Regions from separate parts of the Homo sapiens genome. Here all the other regions are linked to region 1. Evidence: promoter capture Hi-C in 16 types of primary human blood cells and fetal thymus (Javierre and others, 2016). All regions are on one chromosome and are shown on one strand. Each heading gives the region's core, a stretch centred on a gene start or on the middle of the fragment in contact. The rest is flanking DNA. Distances are from core to core; before and after follow the strand shown. Region 1 holds the start of CHDH (choline dehydrogenase). Region 2 holds the start of LOC107986087 (a long non-coding RNA gene). Region 3 overlaps DCP1A (decapping mRNA 1A).

Region 1 (2,606 bases), core at 107-2,606:
GAAAATGTTCTCAAGGGCCACAGGGCCCAAAGCAACTCAGAGAGGTGGAATGAGGGGCTCAGGGTGGCCCAGTCCCAGGCAGGGGTGCGGCCACAACCTCAACTGAGTTCCTTGGTCAGGAAACAGAGCAATTCTCTGAAAATGCTACCTGCAACTCCACACGTATGCATGCCAGAGCCCAAACCCCTGGCTGATCCCCAGTCCATGCAAGCCTTAATCAAGCTGGCAGGTGGGCCAGGCCTGGCACACAAGTAGGGCCTCAGCTAAAACAGCTGCTTGACTTAGTACAGCCTCTCACCAGCTGACAACACACCCCTAAGTTCCATACCCCTCTCTAGGCCTCCGTCTTCTCATCTGTAGAATGGAGCTAATTCTGCCTACAAGTTTAAATGGCCCTGAGTTGGTCACCACAACCCTGTCGTTTGCAAACCGAGGGGGCTGAAGCAGCAGTTCCAGCCTCTGTGACTCCACTGTTAGCCCAGCTGATTTTTGTGAACTTTCCCCCAAACCCACTGTGTCTCAAAGGATGGTCCCTGGGCCACCCACCCACGAATTACGGGGGCGTGGGTGGAGGCTCGTTAAATGCAGATCCCGGGCCTGACCCGGACCTGCCGTCTGGATCTCATTTTAGGCGGCGCTAGAGATCCCGGGCCAGGGAAACTTGAGAACCGCAGCTCCAAATCGCCAGTGCTGACGGCTTCCGCTTTGGGAGCCCCAGGTGTTGCTGTCCGAACTCACTTGGTGGAAACAGACATTTACCAGAAAGCCTGGGGTCGGGCAGCGGGCACTCCTACCGCTCTAACCCCGCGTAGCTGAAAGAATTCGCTCCCTCAAAGGAGTCAGTGAGCTTCGGCAGTCTGCGTTCCACCCGTTTCGCTTCGCGCGGCGGGGCGATTGTGTAAAGCGGGCCCGGGTCTCGGCGTCCAGCCCGGCCCCAAACCTCCGGCCCCCAGGCCTCTCCGGGCTAGCGGCCGGGCGGCGCTGCTGCGGGGTGGTCGGGGCGCCTCCGCGGCTACTCACCCGGGGCGACTCGGCCGAGAGCCCGACAGTCGGGACCGGAGCGGGAGGAGCGGGTGGCCGCGGCCCGGCCCCTGCCCCGCGGCACTTTAACCGGCGGCGCCGGCGCCCCGCGCGCTCTCTGCGTCCGGAATGGGGACGCAGCAGTTCCGACCCGGTCGGCCCCGGAGCCGCGAGGCTAGCTGGGCTCCAGCGGAGGCGCGCGAAGCCCGAGGGCGGGTGCAGCTGATGCACCTGGCTCACTGCATGCACGTGTGCGCGGGGGTAGGCGCGCGCCGCGGCGGCCCGTGCTCCGCCAGCGCTCGGACACGGCCCATCCCTCCGAGCCCCAGCAGGCGAGGGCGCTGCGACCTGCCCCAGCCTGGGAGGGGGCCAGCGGGCCCGCCCTCTGTTCGGGTGGCGGGAATGGGTCGGCGCTGCGAGAGGCGGAGCCGAGAAGGGGCGGCCCGGCGGCGCCGGGATAAAAGCGCAGCGTGCGGGTGGCCTGGATCCCGCGCAGTGGCCCGGCGATGTCGCTCGTGCTGCTAAGCCTGGCCGCGCTGTGCAGGAGCGCCGTACCCCGAGAGCCGGTAAGCCCCCGCCAGCACCTCTTCCCTCATCTCCCGGCCCTCGAGCCCAGATCCTGACGTCGTCTGATCCGCCAGTCCAGGCTGCCCCGAAGGCGTGCGCGGACTGCCGGCTCAAGGGGCATGCCTGCACCCTCAGGGCAGCCCCGGACATCGGCGTCAGGTTGCTTGAGTCAGGGGCGTGGGAATCAGACAGACCCGGTCTCAGATGCCACCCTGTACTGTTGGTTCTGTCATTTATGCTCACCAAGTTCCAAGTCCCGAACGGTAAAACGAAGGGCAGTACCGAACCCACCAGGGTCTCTTAAGGTATAACGACATGGCCTGCAATTAGCGGCGAAGGGCCTGGCACGTAGTTATTGTTACTTGGGGTCTGCTCACCTGTTGGGGCACAAGAACTGTTTCTCCATTAGTACCCCCTCCCTTTTTGGCCATATTGATTGCCATGTTCACTCGTGAAGGCAGTTGCCTTTCTTCCCCAGTACCCTGAATGATCGAGGGAATCTTCTGGGTCACTGAAGAGAAAATAGCTCATCCCCCAAATAACCTTTGAAATGATACCGCTGCCCTCTTAGAATAGCATATAGCATCAAGCTCCGTAGTCACCTGCTGGTGGACAAACCCCATTCACTGTTTCCTGATGTCTTCAGCTCCTATCCTTCCCCTCTGTGTCAGTTCAGAAGCCCTCTTGGCTCTTTGCACTAAAGGGAAGAATTCATCCCTTTTGCTGTAGTTGCTGCAAGGCCAACAATTTGAGCTTGGTAGCATTTAGGGTTGTTGCTTGGCCTCTCACCGGCCGTTTGATAAGAACTCAGCTCCTGGTATGATGGCTCATTTGTTAAAAAAAAAAAAAAAAAGTCAAGTCTGGCCGGGCTCGGTGGCTCACGCCTGTAATCCCAGCACTTTGGGAGGCTGAGGCGGCCGGATTGCCTGAGGTCAGGAGTTTGGGAACAGCCTGGCTAACATGGTGAAACCCCGTCTCTACTAAAAATACAAAAAGTAGCCGGGCATGGTGGCAGGCGC
Region 2 (2,606 bases), core at 66-2,565, 580 kb before region 1:
TGAACTCCTGACCTCAGGTGATCCGCCTGTCTGCATCAATATTTTAAATAAAGATGTTAATGCTCCACAGGTTGTGCGTCTTTCCCCACGTGAGTCCACATTCTTTTCTACCCTAGGATTACTACTGGCACAGAGGAAGTTGAACCACTGTCCCCCTTTGGTTGGATGTTTGCAATACTTCTGCTTTTATACTGCAACAAACAATACTTGTGCTTTCCCTCCATCTAGCACTGTGCCTCCAGGAGAGAGGGTTTTTTTCTGGTCGCCCCTGCAGACATGACCCTGCTTGTCCCTGGCCAATCCCAGGGCCAGACTGGATTGTTGGCCCTCTGACTCACCCTAGAAGGCCTGGGGCTGGAGAGGCCTGGAACTCCTCGGAGGTAAGTGCCAGTGTGAGGCCAGCCAAGCCCTGCCGGGCCTGCTTTCCTTGTGCATAAAGAAAACATGCCGAGTCATTGTGACTTGCACTTTTTGACTAGTGCGGTCAGGCTCTGTGTGGCACTGCCGTAGGCCTGGGTACCTCCTAGTGTGAGGAGCAGGAGCTGCTTTCCAGCAACGCCCTACAGCCCCTGTCAACTCCTGCCCAGGGGCGCTGGACAGGCTGGGCTGGGCAGGGGCGGTGCTGGTGACAGACAGGACACTCTTAGGGGCTCCTCCTGCACAGTCTGCAGGACGCAGTAGGGAGAGATCTTCATCCTTGTCCCCTTTTCTGGTACCTCTTGGGTTTCCCTGAGCAAGGCTGGGGTGGTGGAAGGAGCTATTTTGTTCCAGTGGGTATTAAATATTAAAGCTTTTGTTTTGTGTCGTGGGGAGGTTAAGTGGATTTTCTCCTGGGCTGGTTGTTGAACAGCTGAGAGTGAAACTGGCTTCTTAGAGTAGGACTAAAAAGCTCCAGAGAGTGGCTCACAGAGGGGTTGCTTAACCACTGTGAGCCACAGCTCCTCCTGGAAAACCTGAAACCATCAGGAGCACTTCCCTTGTAAGGTCACCTGAGAAAGTGAGTGAGGAGATATCTCACTTCCCAAACCAGGGTTCTTTGGCCCCCAGACACATGACTTTTACTCTCTCTCTTCCCATCCTTGCCTCCAGAATTAGCAAGGGCACCCAGTCAGCCATCCTGTTCTAGTGACTTGGACAAGGCATCAGAAAAGCATTTGTTAGGCCAGGTGCGGTGGCTCACGCCTGTAATTCCAGCACTTTGGGAGGCCGAGGTGTGCGGATCACAAGGTCAGGAGTTCGAGACCAGTCTGGCCAATATGGTGAAACCCCGTCTCTACTAAAAATACAAAAATTAGCTGGGCGTGGTAGTGGGTGCCTGTAGTTCCAGTTACTTGGGAGGCTGAGACAGGAGAATCGCTTGAACCTGGGAGGTGGAGGTTGCAGTGAGCCAAGATGGCGCCACTGCACTCCAGCCTGGGCAACAGAGCAAGACTCCATCACCAAAAAAAAAAAAAGCGTTTGTTCCATGCTACTGTGCAAAAAGAAAAGTGCTGCTGCTGGCTATCTGGTCAGGGCAGGGAAGTGGTTTTGCCATCACTGGTCCTCTGATTTCACTCAACACTTCATTTACCAGGGTCTATGTGTTGGGCACAGGTGCTGGATGCCCCAGCAGCACGTGTTTATACCGCACTGTCCAGTGATTTGTACAAACAATTGCCTGCTGAGGTTGTTGATCTGGGAAGGCGCCAAGGAGGGGGTGACAGCCAGTTTTGAAATAACAGAATTTTCTGCAACAAAACTGTGTCTGTGTCTAGCTGGCATGGGTGAAGAGGGGATTGAGGAAATACATTCATTTCAATATGTATTCTTTTTATGTTAATTTAATTTTATTTTTGTAGAGACAAGCTTTCACCATGTGGGCCAGGCTGGTCTCAAACTCATGACCTCAAGTGATCCGCCTGCCTCAGCCTCCCAAAGTGCTGGGATTACCGGCGTGAGCCACCGCGCCTGGCCGACTCTTTTTTTTTTTCGAGACCCAAGCTGGAGTGCAGTGGTGTGAACACAGATCACTGCAGCCTTGACCTCCTGGGCTTAAGTGATCCTCCCACCTCAGCCTCCCGAGTAGCTGGGACTATACGTGCATGCCACCACATCTGGCTTTGTGTGTGTGTGTGTGTGTGTGTGTGTGTGTGTGTGTGTGTGTATGTTTGGTAGAGATGGGTTTTGCCATGTTGCCCAGGCTGGTCTTAAACTCCTGAGCTCAAGTGATTCACCCACCTCTGCCTCCCAAAGTGCTGGGATTACAGGCGTGAGCCACTGTGGCTGGCTCCTCCACAGATGTTATGTGGGAGAGTAGCATGCTTTTCAGCGATGTATGGAGAGGTTTCAGAGGGAAGACCGGAGGTCCTCTATGGGGTATTTTGGGAATTTGTGTACCTGTGTACCTGTGCCCAAGCATTTCCATATTAAAACAGAGTCTTTCTATGCTGCCCATGCTAGACTTGAACTTTTGGGCTCAAGCAATCCTCCTGCCTCAGCCTCCTGAGTAGCTGGGACTACAGGTGTGCCCCATACATATTTAATATGAAACATTTCATTATTAACGTTTCTCCTTTATATTACAATTAGAGAATATTATTTTAAAATTGTGTGTACAAAAAATCATT
Region 3 (2,606 bases), core at 61-2,560, 530 kb before region 1:
GAACAAATCCTCTGTGGAAAGTTTGGATTGACACTGGGCTAGCAAGGACAAAGTCAGTTCTTGAAAATAGAGGTCTTGGTGAATCCTTAAAAGTTAGTAACACTATAAGCAAATAAAAGGTTTCCCTTATTCTCCCTTTTAAAAACCACCAACTTAGCCTGGGCAACTTGGCAAAACCCCGTCTCTACAAAAAATACAAAAATTAGCTGGGCGTAGTGGTACACGCCTGTAGTCCCAGCTATTTGGAAGGCTGAGGTGGGAGGACTGCTTGAGTCTGGGAGGTAGAGGCTGCAGTGAACTGAGATCACACTACTGCACTCCAGCCTGGGTAACAGAGTGAGACCTTGACTCCAAAAAAAAAAAAAAATCACTAAGTGGGCTTTCAGTTTTTAAGAACACCCCCTTCTCCCTTGTAAAGAAAGATCTGAAACAATTACAGCAAAATATTAGGAACTGAAAGCTGGGTGGTAAGCACATACATATTTTATTATTTCCTATATTTTTCTTCAAGCTTTCAAGCTTGAATAATAAATTTTAATAAAGCAACTTTTTTTGTTTTTTTTAAGATTCATTCAGGCCAGGCACAGTGCTCATGCCTATAATCCTAGCACTTTGTGAGGCTGAGGCAGGACGATCACTTGAGCCCAGGAGTTTGAGACCAGCCCAGGCAACATAGTGAAACCCTGTTTTAAAAAACAAAAAACCCAGCCTGCACAGGAGCTCTCATTAGAGTGTGGGGAAGAGGTGAACAGAGATGGCTTTTTTATTTAAAAATACTGGGTTAAACAATATTAAACCGACTTAAAAAAAAAGAAAAAACAGAATCCTTGAGTTTTATTATTATTTTTGTAGAGATGGAGTTTGATATGTTGCCCTGGCTGGTCCCAAAACTCCTAGTCTCAAGTGATCCTCCTGCCTCAGCCTCCCAAAATACTGGGATTAAAGGCATGAATTACCACAACCCACCCATTGAATTTTTGTTTGTTTGTTTTATTTATTTTTTTATTGTACAGACAAGGTCTCACCATGTTGCCCAGGCTGGTCTCAAACTCCTGGCCTCAAGCAATCCTCCCACCTCAGCCTCCCAAAGTGCCGGGATTATAGACATGAGCCACCACAACTGGCCAGTTGATTTTTAAGCATGCTAAAATTTATTGTGATTCTCCAAGAAGGGCAGGCCTATAGATTTTCTCAAATTTTATTTGACTATAGAATTTTACTCTGAGGTAGAATTCCTGTTTGGAAAATGTGGCTTTAAGGTAACATGTAGTTTTTCTATCTAGATTCATAATTATAGCTCTTAATAAGACTATTACTTCTAAAACAAATGTAGCATCATGAGCTTCATGGTAGACTGAAAGACTGGTATGGGATATGAGAATAAGACCAAACATGAATTGTTTATTTAATGCTCAAATATAGGCCACATCAGCCTGAATCCATCTTCATAAAGGATCTGTCACACGGCCTGTTTTCCACCTACCTCCTGACATGTTGCCTGACTTGGCCATGCTGGTATTTAACTCTTCCCTGACCCAGACTAGGATCTGTGATTCTGTGATTATTTTGGTTTAAGAGAAGAATATTTCTTTTCTTTTTCTTTTTTTTTTTTTTTTTTTTTTGAGACAGAGCCTTACTCTGTCACCCGGGCTAGAGTGCAGTGGTGCGATCTCGGCTTACTGCAACCTTCGACTCCCGGGTTCAAGCGATTCTCGTGCCTCAGCCTCCCTAGTAGCTGGGATTACAGGTATGCACTATCATGCCCGGCTAATTTTTGTATTTTTAATAAAGACAGGGTTTCACCATGTTGACTAGGCTGGTCTTGAACTCCTGACCTCAAGTGATCTGACCACCTCAGCCTCCCAAAGTGCTGGGATTACAGGCGTGAGCCACTGCGCCCAGCCAGAACAGGTAATTTTATAAAGCTCACCACTGCTGAAAGCAGAAGCTGTCGGGGGTGGTAATGGAAGGGACTCTCACATAAACGAGGCTTGGACTCTAAGGCCTCTTCTAATCCAAACTTTATGGATAGCACTCATGCCATTCTCCTTTCCTTTCAAACACCAAAACCTACCCCTAAGATGTCTGTAAGATCAGGAATAAAGCTTACTTCCATGAGTTCTCCAAAGTTTACATAGTCTATGTGGCCAAACCGTCAAACAACTTTTTATTGTTAAAAAGAGTTTCTGAGGCCGGGTGTGGTGGCTCACGCCTGTAATCCCAGCACTTTGGGAGGCCAAGGTGGGTGGATCATGAGGTCAGGAGTTCAAGGTCAGCCAGGTCAAGATGGTGAAACCCTGTCTCTACTAAAAATACAAAAATTAGCTGGGTGCAGTGGCAGGCACTTGTAATCCCAGCTACTCGGGAGGCTGAGGCAGGAGAACTGCTTGAACCCAGGAGGGCGGAGGTTACAGTGAACCCAGATCACGCCACCACATTCCTGGGTGACAGAGCAAGACTCTGTCTCAAAAAAAAAAAAAAAAAAAAAAAGAGTTTCTGGCAGACTGGATTTCCTCTTTAGGAGAGTCAACAGCTTCTAAGTTTAGTGGGTTTTCAACTCTGCCACCACTGACCAGAGAATATACAAATTTAGATGACATAGGGTC

The links. The method cuts DNA at HindIII sites, captures the fragments that hold promoters and counts their contacts. A CHiCAGO score of 5 or more calls a contact.
Region 2: a contact is called between a fragment that was not itself captured here and the fragment with the promoter of CHDH in region 1, in 1 of 17 cell types (M2 macrophages). The highest score is 5.0, in M2 macrophages.
Region 3: a contact is called between a fragment that was not itself captured here and the fragment with the promoter of CHDH in region 1, in 2 of 17 cell types (megakaryocytes and erythroblasts). The highest score is 5.1, in megakaryocytes.

What each region holds. Positions count from the first base shown.
Region 1 is chr3:53,845,063-53,847,668 of GRCh38, forward strand. CHDH (choline dehydrogenase) reads right to left here and starts at 1,357. Exons shown (of 9, transcript NM_018397.5): 1 at 1,021-1,357. It overlaps IL17RB (interleukin 17 receptor B), which reads left to right and starts at 1,506. Exons shown (of 11, transcript NM_018725.4): 1 at 1,506-1,586. The coding sequence starts at 1,527. RefSeq lists enhancers at 1-472, 473-1,313, 1,260-1,554 and a silencer at 905-1,554. The HindIII fragment of the contact is 5,797 bases long and covers 1-2,606 here.
Region 2 is chr3:53,269,801-53,272,406 of GRCh38, forward strand. It overlaps LOC107986087 (a long non-coding RNA gene), which reads left to right and starts at 174. Exons shown (of 4, transcript XR_001740702.3): 1 at 174-380. RefSeq lists enhancers at 1-1,000, 1,618-2,503 and a cis regulatory region at 78-954. The HindIII fragment of the contact is 1,055 bases long and covers 789-1,843 here.
Region 3 is chr3:53,313,068-53,315,673 of GRCh38, forward strand. The region is part of intron 4 of DCP1A (decapping mRNA 1A); the gene reads right to left. Among named protein-coding and RNA genes, the nearest start is that of SNORD38C, 19 kb to the right of the region's middle. The HindIII fragment of the contact is 1,586 bases long and covers 518-2,103 here.